Regions from separate parts of the Homo sapiens genome. Here regions 2 and 3 are each linked to region 1. Evidence: promoter capture Hi-C in human tissues and cell types (Jung and others, 2019). All regions are on one chromosome and are shown on one strand. Each heading gives the region's core, a stretch centred on a gene start or on the middle of the fragment in contact. The rest is flanking DNA. Distances are from core to core; before and after follow the strand shown.

Region 1 (3,449 bases), core at 252-2,751:
TAGTGTCAGGCGGAATTCCCATTCTGAGTTCTGGACTTTCTCTGTGACTTCTCCACACTCCATCTGACTAGCAAACTTTTTAGTTCCACGTCTAATGCAGCAGCTACTATATGCCAGGCCCTGTGGTAGATGGTGGTGATTCAAAGATGCATATGACTATTATGATCTAATTGGTGACAGAGAGCTTCAGAACTAATTCTAACTGGTAAAAATTACCAATAGATTTTAATATATGGGTAAATGCTTATGTTAACAATGCTAAATGAGAAAACAGCAATGAAATTGTATATATAGTTGGCCCTTGGACACATATTTGAACTGCACAGGTCCACTTATACACAGATTTTTTTTTTCACCCAAAAGCGGATAGAAAACAGTATTTTCAGGCAGAAATGCTTAAACAGAGGGCAGACTTTTCCTATACGCGGGTTCCCCAGGGCCCACAGCTGGACTTGGACTTGAATATGGGATGATTTTAGTATGGGGGGGCGGAGGGGAAGAGGGCCTGGAACTAGTCCGTTGAGTATAACGAGGGACAATGCTAAGTATGTTATAATCTCATTAAAAGTACACAGAACTTGAGATACGCAATAACCTACTAACGAACCAAGTGTTACAAGACATGCTAAGACCTTGTGTTGTAAGTACTTGTGCACTTACTCGATCTCCCTGCTTTAGGGCCAGGACCGAGTTTTTTTGTTTTTGTTTTTGTTTTTGTTTATGTATTCTCTCGTTGTATCAGTTCATCTTGCCCCAGACCTGTCACCCACTAGAATTTGTTGTTAAACAAATGAAGCTTCCTTTCTCATGTGGCCCCCACCCCTCTCCTAAAGGAGAATAAAAGGTCGAGAGAACGGATGAGGTTAGAATGCTGGTGGGACTGAGATGGGAAAGGACCTTAAAGGTTACTCGCCCAAAGAGGAAAACCAGCCTTTTCCCTGCAGACGGAAACTGACGCGCTCCCCCTGGAGGCAGCGCAGGATGCTCCCGGGGGTCCAGGCGTCCCAGCCTGAGGTCCCCATCCTCGTGTGCAGCCTGGGCGCCTGGTACAAGTCGGGGTAACCCTGAGGCTTGTGCATCCAGAGAAGCTAGGTCCCCGGTGGAGACTAGCTTGGGATAAGGTTGGGGAGACGCCCTCCGTTCTTCTAGATGCCTGGGGTCTCAACAGCAAGCAGTGAGGAATGAGACTCTTAACTGAACAACTCCTGAGACTGTTAAAGGAGTGCATACTATTACAGGGACAGGCATCCCCTGTGAACCTACTCATGAATTTTTCCTAATGCTTAATTCAGCTTGGGGGCAGAAATGCTGGGGTGAGACACGGCCAGGTCCGCCCCGTTCCTCCAGGGAACTCCCCTCTCCGCCCTCCCTCTCCGTCTCCTCTTGCCCACCTCCTCCTCCTCCCCTCCCCCCACTCCATCCCACCGCGCCCGCCCCTCGTCATCGCCCCCTTTCCCCTCCCATCTCCCGGCCGTGGTGCGGCGCAGCTCTCTCCCCCTCCGCAGTCTCAGTGGCGAGCTCTGGGTGCTGTGGCCCGGCCTTGGCGGGGCGGCCTCCGGCTCAGGCTGGCTGAGAGGCTCCCAGCTGCAGCGTCCCCGCCCGCCTCCTCGGGAGCTCTGATCTCAGCTGACAGTGCCCTCGGGGACCAAACAAGCCTGGCAGGTAAAGATGAAGCTCCCCAAACCCAACAACCTTAGAACTTAGAAATTTCCCTGAGAAAGGCAGGACCTACCCGAGGAGAGCTTCTTTGAAGGACTTTGAAGAAAGGGATCAAACTTGACACTTTCTTTCAGTCCTCAAAGAAACTAACCACCCTTCCCATAGGCAATTCTGTGTGCCGGCCTCTGCACAGTTTAATATTAACGACAACAATGTTTGCATTGGAATATAAATGGAATTCTTTCTGCTTAAGCAGTACCAGAGGGGACCCTCTTTATTTTTATGATTGTTAACAGATGCCATTGAGAAAGGTATGAAACGCATTCCTGAAAAGTCTCTTTGGCGGGGTTACTATGAAAGCTAGCCTCTCCCCTCTACCCTTTTATCAACTTGGCTGCGGAGGTCAGCAAAAGGAGCATAGGAAAACGTTTAGAAAATGAGGCGGCGAAATGAAGTAGAAAAGCTTTTGACTTGCTTTGAAATACTCTAGCTGAAAAAAAAAAGTGTGTGGGGTGGTGATGGTGGATGAAACATTGGCAAAATATTGACAATAGTTGAAGCTGGTGATGTGCACATGGGGGTTGTACTTTTCTCTCAACTTAATACTTTTCTCTGTGCTTTTGTGTAGTCTTGAAATTTTCTATAATAAAAGGTTTTTTAAAAAGTTGTAGAAACACTCCCGCTTGATTGCTCTGACATTTTTACACTGTCCTTGATTTGAAAAGAAGCTGCTTGCTGTGTCTAGGGGGCTTTCACCCCTTATTAACCCTTCTGACTTCTGAAATTCATTCTTATTTTATCCGAAGTACATTTGTCTCCACAGAGGATTATAAAAGTCATATTTTGCTGGCTGGAGAATTATACTTAGAATCTGGTTTATAATTTAGAAGAGAGAATGTTAAAATCCCTGCCAAATAAGACATGTAGGCTTGAAGGTAGAGGCCAAGTATCATATGGAATTTTATTTTTATTAGGAAATATTAGAGGAGTTCCTTTAGTGAGGGAAGTGGTAGATGTGGATACTGTACCCCATTTTTCTTCCAGATAGCTGGGAAAACTGCATGCTTTTAAGAAGCTTTTTCACGTTTTAAAATGTGAGACTGTTTAGCATATACTTGGCATACAGTATGTGTTCATTAGATGTTAAAATAAGCAATTGCTAGTGTGAGTTAATTTTCTCCATTGGGTAAATGATTTTCCTCTGCCCAATGCTCAAATATCAAACAAGCATATTGCATTTTAACAGTAGGATCAGACTCAGAATTTGGGAGGATAGAGCTACTTTACCTTAGCACTGAGGTAACTTTGCAGATGAGAAATCTGAGATGGAGAGGTTAGGAAACAGTAAAGTTAAGTTAGTAGTATGCAAGCTATTATTTTATAACTAAAAAACGTTAAGCTTCGTATAGGTAAAACTGATGTGGGTTAGCTAAAAACATTGTGACCATAGATGCTTTAAAACCTGAAAAGTAGCATACCTATTTATAGATATTCTTTGCTCTCAAAGGCCAACTTGAAAAATACAGATAAGTCTAGAGCTATATGCTGTGCACTTCATAAGGCAGCATATGAAAGAGTCCTCTTGGGGTTCCTTTAATGTCATTCACCCAAAATTTGATTTATCCATAGGATTGCACAAATTGAGATGTACAGGTCATGGAAAAATAGCCCCCAAACAAAGGGAGGTTTTGTTTTTTATTGTGATGAGAAACAGAAGTTGTGGGTTACTGTAAAATAATCAACTGTGTAACTTTACCATCTTCCTTTCCCTCAAGTACTGCCAAACTTTT
Region 2 (3,449 bases), core at 482-2,981, 60 kb before region 1:
ATGCTTTTAAAGGAAAACTGGTCATTGTTTTAACAACCAAAAATGATTCTTAATCTCAGATGTCTCCCTCTTTCCTCAACTGAGCCTATGCAACAGCTTTACCTGCCATGTTCCAGCTCACTCTTGCCTTGAGATTAGCAACAGAGAGCTGGGAAGCAGGGAGAGGAGGACGATGTTATTAAGGTGATGACCCCTGCTTTTGCCTGCTTTACTGTCAAGTTTTAAAAAAAGACACAGATTAGGTTTTAGGCTAAGTTTTACCAAAAAAACAAAAAGAACCAAATTCCAATGTCAGATCTCCAGGGAAATAAAAGGATAAATATTCAAGTTGACCTGAACTTCTCAAGGTCAATGTGTTCTATCTATAAATTGTATTAAGACAATTATATCATGTAAGCATTTCTCTCTGAATAAGAACTAATTCTCTGCCCACACCCAGCAAAATGTTATTTTTTGTTCTAAATTTCTCTCAAAGGCAAATGCTTTCCCACACTCAGAAATGCATTCTTTGTCCTCTGAGTATTAGTTGTATGCCAAGATTCAAAGTTTAAATTCTAAACACTTTTGTTTAGTTTTTTAAGCATACACTATGGCAGAAAATTTTGCTTTTTTAAAGGTTTGACTGACTCAAATAATCACTATTTCTAGGGATTCTTGAGAAAATTACTTTTAAACTAAGAAATAGAAGAAATTTCACCAGAAAATCTCATTTTGATGAGATTATAACAAATATGAGGATATTGAATCAAAGGCCTGCATCCTTCTGGACCATTATTTTGCTACCATAATGTTAATACACTTATTAATATATTATTATTGCCCAGGTTGAGTTGGATTTAAATTAACAGCCCTGCATCAGCCTATGGGGAAGTCTCTAGTAGAATGACACACAGCTGTTTCATTGTCTTTACTCTTTAACATTTACCAACTTTTTAGATGAAAATATAGATGATATATTGTGATATGTATTTCTTATAATTTTCTTCCTAATTATAAAATTAATTAATGCTTAATACAGATGATTTAGGAAACACGGGATGGTGGTGGTGGGGAATCATCCATAGTAGTGTGGCTTTTCTTTTTCATTAGCAAATTGTATTTCTTGAATAATTTACCAAGGCTCTGAAATATTTTTATATTTGTCAGAATGTCCATTTCATAGACCTAGCAACATATTAGCTAAATTTGTGAATGACATGGAGATGAAAGGAATAGCTAGTATGGTAGAGGAAAGAATTAGGATTCAAAACCCTCCATAGGCTGGAAGAATTAGTTGAAACACAAGATAAACTGTAGCAAGAGTAAATGTAGGCCAGGCACAGTGGCTCATGCCTGTAATCCCAGCACTTTGGGAGGCCAAGGGGCAGATCACCTGAGGTCAGGAGTTTGAGACTAGCCTGGGCAACATGGTGAAACCCGTCTCTACTAAAAAATAAAAAAATCAGCTGGGTGTGGTGGCATGTGCCTTTAATCCCAGCCACTTGGCTGGCTGAGGCAGGAGAATTGTTTGAACCCAGGAAGTGGAGGTTCCAGTGAACACAGAGATCATGCCACCTCACTCCACCCTGGGCAACAAAGCAAGACTCCGTCTCAAAAAAAAAAAAAAATGTAAATGTAAAGTCCTGGTATAGAAACAACTGTCCCTGCATAGGAAGAAGGCAATGCATCAAAATAGGAGTTCCTGTGGAAAAGACTGGGTATTTCTAGTTGATGAAAACTTAGCCAGAATTGGGCTTTGATTTAGAATTGGGCTGCCAAAAAAGATAGTGTAAGCTTAGGTATCATCAGTGAAGTACAGAATCCAGAGGGAAGGGAAGAGGTGTTCTTACCATTTCCACATGGTTCAAGCTACACCTGGAGTATTGTTTTCAATTTTAGGACACATTTAAAGACGGCGTTAATAAAACATGAGCCTTCCCAGCTGAAAATTTGTGTTGAAATCATGTTATATAAGAAAGATGAAGCGAAAGAACTAAAGAGAAATATGATAGCTGCCTTCAACAATTGGAAAGAATTTTTCTGACCTGTTCAGAAACCATATCTAGAAACAAGGGGTAGAAGAATTGTCATTCAGATTTCAGCTTAAGTGACACTGCCTCAGCAGTGTCTTGCCTTGAAGTAGCCACCCAGTAATTAGTATATAACTGTTTTAGCCTTCTGTATAATAGGTATCATTATCTATTCACTTAATTTTTTTTCTGTAAACTTAATTCATTAATTTATTGTCTGTTGGTCTGTTTCTTCTCACTAGAACATAATTTTCCTGAAAGTAAGTTCCCCTCTGTCTTGTTCACAGTTATATACAGTACCTTGAACAGTACTACTATAAATATTTATTGAATGAACTAATTTATGGGAAAGCAGATTTTGGCTTAATAGAGAAAGAATTTTCTTTCTGTGGGGAAGGGGCAAGAGCTTTCAACCACTGAGGATGTTTTATGTTAACTAGTTTTATCTTCATACAGTTTGTCATCAGCCACTTTTTGAGCACTTATATGCTAGACATAGGCATGGAAGACACGGCTCAGAGACAGTAAGTAACTTTGCCCTAGCTCATGTCGTTGGAACTGAAAATTGTAATCCATCTTGTCTGTTTCCAAAACCACTGGGCTTTCTACTATACCATAAATAGAATAGGGGTTTATGATGATGAATTTTCCCATCACTGGTGGACTTTAGGCAAAGACTAGATGATCATTCATTGGGATACTAAACTATGCTAACTAATGGATTCTTGAATTGAGTGGGATGGTGGACTAGATCCAATTCTAAGATTCTGTGATTCTGTGATAGAAGCTGTCCATTCATGATAGAAATTCTATGACAGGATTTCTTTATGTTGGAAATAACAAAGAAGAAAAGAAACCTTTTTTGAAATTGTTGCTTGGAACCCAAGAATGTGAACTTACACAATTGCCAAAATGTTATCCCTTAATCCTAGCTGGATGGTGGACTGAAAGTGGGCTCAGAAATATACTTGCATTTCAAATACAATAGCTCCTACAGTCCACAAATAAAAAATGAAAACCAAAACTTTGAAACGATAAAATGGAAAGTTTTCAATGAAGTAAGCAAATTGTACAATAATTTCATAATTGTTCTGGGTGTCTAAGCAAAGCTCACATAATGAAGTCTTTTTTTTTTTTTGAGACAGAGTCTCACTCTGTCGCCCAGGCTGGAGTGCAGTGGTGCAATCTCAGCTCACTGCAAGCTCCACCTTCCAGGTTCAAGCAATTCTCCTGCCTCAGCCTCCCAAGTAGCTGGGACTACAGGCGCCCGCCACCATGCCTGACTAATTTTTTGTATTTTTAGTAGAGACGAGGTTTCACCGTGTTAGCCAGGATGGTCTCAATCTCCTGACCTCGTGATCTCCCATCTCGGCGCCCCAAAGTGCTGGGATTACAGGCGTGAGCCACTTCACTTGGCCACATAATGAACTCTTATAGGAA
Region 3 (3,449 bases), core at 357-2,856, 33 kb before region 1:
GCTATCTCTTTTCTTTCTTTCTTTCTTTTTTATTATGCTTTAAGTTTTAGGGTACATGTGCACAACGTGCAGGTTTTTTACGTATATATATCTTTTCTATACAACATCCAATTACTTTTTATTAAAAGCCCTTCTGATATAAGTCACAAGGAAAATAAGGAAATACAAGGATTAAAAGGAAAGTCATAAAATGTCATTCTTTTCTATTTATATGCTTTTCTATAATAAAATATTCAATGAATCAATAGATAATGGTCCTGCAAATCAAATGTATTCCTAAAAACCAGCAACAAATGGTTCAAAATATAATTTTTGAAGATATGTATTATAGCAATAATGCATATAAGGTATCCAGAAATAAATCTTTAAGACTTTTATAAAGAAAAATAAAAATTTTGAGAGACATTAAAGAAACAAATGCCCATGAATGGGAAGTCTCAATAACAAAGACATTAGTTCATCCAAAATCCAACAGGCTTTTTTGATAAAAGTTACTGAGTTTATCCTAAAGTTATCCATATAAATGAGCAAAAGGCCAGGAATTGCCAAAATAATTCTGAAGAAGAATAGGGGACTCATTCTTTAAGATATCAGGAATCTTGCATCCAAAAGATATAGTAATTAGAACAATGTGGTTTAAGACAGAGTAACGCTGTCTGAACCTGACCTCTTCTCCTTGAGGAATCTTTTTACCCTTTATTCTGTGAGTAATAAACCTTATTTTATATCTATTGGTGCCTATGTGTCATTCCTTCCAACATCCCTATAAATTCTGGAGTGGGGACTGCTAGTGTTCAGCCAGGGACACCATATGCCCAAATAAAACGATGCTATTCTCAAAACCATAACAATGAAAGATAGGGGAAGAAACATCTTTCAGAAAGTTGCAAACACCATGATGCCATTTATGAAAAGTTTTATAAACATGCAACACAATATTTTATCTTTATTTATAGATATATACACATTAGAGAAAGTATAAAAGCACATGTGAATGAGAAACATCAAATTCAAGACAGTGATTACCTCTGGTGAAAAAGTGAGGGGAACAACAGGATTGGGGCAGAGTACACAGGGGTTTCATATGAGTCAGGAATACTTTCTTTTCTTTCTTTCTTTGAGATAGGGTCTCACTGTGTCACCCAGGCTGGAGTGCAGTGGCAGAAACACAGCTCACTGCAGTCTCGACCTCCTGGGCTCAAGTGATTCTCCCATCTCAACCTCCTGAGCAGCCGGGACCACAGGTGCCACCAATGTTGGCTAATTTTTAATTTTTTCTGTAGAGACAAGATCTCCCTATGTTGCCCAGGCTGGTTTCAAACTCCTGGGCTCAAGCGATCCTCCCACCTCAGCCTCCGAAAGTGCTGGGATTACAGGTGTAAGCCACTGTGTGCCCATCCAGGTGTAAGCTTTCCTATGTTAGGGTCAACTGATTTGGGACCTTAATTGCATGTTCAAAATTTATTCATAGCAACACATAGATTGATGTTTGAATAAGTGGAAGAAAGTGTATGTACACCAGGACCCAGAAATTTGGAAGGCCAAATGGTGCCTACCACAGACTAGGACTAGGGAGGGTATAGAATAGAAGGTCAATGTCAGGGGAATTATTAAGTGGCGTCCACATATGTTTAATGTTAAAGATTGGCTAGTATAACTGGCTCATGATGTTCTGCATGCTTAAAAATTAAGGGAAGAGAACAAAGGTCATGAAAATCTCTATGACCTTGGCAGACTGAAGCTCATTAAGTAATAGTCTAGGTACTGCTAAAGATAGCTACAAGCAGGTCAGAGGAAAACTAGTTTGCTATTGGAACCAGTTATCTGAGTTATCCATGCCATTGTAAGTGATAGGTAAGTACAAATCTTATATAAAGACAAATGTAAACATAACTAAACATAAATATAAATAAGCATTTTAAAAAACCAGAATATTTATAAAGTAGAATAAGGCAGAGACCATTTATATTTGAGAGAACTATATTTTATATCCAGTACACATATAGACCATGTTTCCTTATTTTATATGTCTATACAGCAGCTAGCCTTATTTTGTAATACATGGTAAAAGGAATAAATCATTGTTAATGTTTAATGAGTAATAATGACAGCTGGACATTTAAAACCCTCCTTGGTACGGTTCATCTTATCTTTCCAGAATTATCTATTATTTCTTTCCTACTTTTACTTTGTATACCAACAAAACAGAATGGCTCATTTTTCCTCCAAACCTATTGCTACACCTTTGTTAAGTGTTTACCTCTAATATTCTCCACTTCATCAGTAGCTATTGTTTCTACCTAGCCTTTAGGGCCCAAATTAAATGTCCCCTCCTTTATAAAGAATTTTTTTAAATCTTTCTCAGCTCCCATTGTAAATAGTCTTTCCCACTTGAACTCCCTTAGCATTTTGTTCAAATGTATAGTGCATGCCACTTTCTACCTTATACTATGGTTATCTGTATTTATGACATAGCTCCTCCTACTTGACAAGGTCTTCCTTGAGCAGTAACTCAGACTTTTTTTATTTCAGATTACCTATGGCGCCGGGCAGAATACCCAGCACTAAAAGTGCTTAAAAATTGTGAATCAATCTTTTGAATGACTGTTTCTCTTTGTCTTTATCTTAATGCCAAAAGCAAGGCAAAATAAGTCAATATTATTATGGCTAGGGAAAGACCTTAACTACCTCAAAGAGACCTTAGTTACAATTATATTTCACAGAATTATGTCTCAAAACTCCCCAAAGTTCAGTTTCATCATTGCACTAAGTAAACCCTTGGTTAAGCATAATCTTCACACATGCACAGACTTGCATCATACCTGTGTGACACAAGCCAGGATCGCATCAATTGCCAAGGGAGGTAAGTTCCTCTAGGCAGCCTGACCCAAACCTCTCTTCTGTTACAGCTTTCCAGAGTTCAATCAATTTACCAGAGGGAGAGAAAGGTATTTCCTCAAGAAATCATTTTTTTAAAAAAGGTGACATGAAACTGAGAGAGTATATATTTGTTCTATGATAGAAATGGCTGACATGACATCTTCCTATAGTTTCCATGAGTTTTGTTGTAAGATTTTATGGAAATATATACTGAATTAAATTTAGACATCATTCATATCTGTTTCACAAGAAGTTTTATGAGCATACAATTTTTCTCTTTAAAGACTTGAGTTAAATTCTGGCTTACAAGTTAAAGAGCTTGACAGGACAGATATGTTGTCATTTAACCAATCACTTCAGTGCACTCAGAGATGAATGAAGTAGCAGCCATAAAAAAGAACAAAACCATGTCCTTCGAGGCAACATGGATGCAGCTGGAGGCTATTATCCTAAGTGAATTAACACAGAAACAGAAAATCAAATACTACATGTTTTCACTTATAAGTGGGAGCTAAACATTGGGTACACACGGCCATAAAGATAGAAACCAGAGACACTGGAAACTCCCT

Evidence for each region. Contacts are between HindIII fragments. The study calls those that stand out against the background at their distance.
Region 2: a contact is called between a fragment that was not itself captured here and the fragment with the promoter of PRSS35 in region 1, in 4 of the 25 tissues and cell types used here (mesendoderm cells, small bowel, stomach and 1 more).
Region 3: a fragment that was not itself captured here is called in contact with the fragment with the promoter of PRSS35 in region 1 in 2 of the 25 tissues and cell types used here (bladder and thymus).

Annotation. Positions count from the first base shown.
Region 1 is chr6:83,511,033-83,514,481 of GRCh38, forward strand. It overlaps PRSS35 (serine protease 35), which reads left to right and starts at 1,502. Exons shown (of 2, transcript NM_153362.3): 1 at 1,502-1,662. The HindIII fragment of the contact is 4,019 bases long and covers 1-2,428 here.
Region 2 is chr6:83,451,127-83,454,575 of GRCh38, forward strand. No RefSeq gene overlaps it. Among named protein-coding and RNA genes, the nearest start is that of ME1, 22 kb to the left of the region's middle. The HindIII fragment of the contact is 6,664 bases long and covers 1-3,449 here.
Region 3 is chr6:83,477,847-83,481,295 of GRCh38, forward strand. No RefSeq gene overlaps it. Among named protein-coding and RNA genes, the nearest start is that of PRSS35, 33 kb to the right of the region's middle. The HindIII fragment of the contact is 3,233 bases long and covers 1-3,223 here.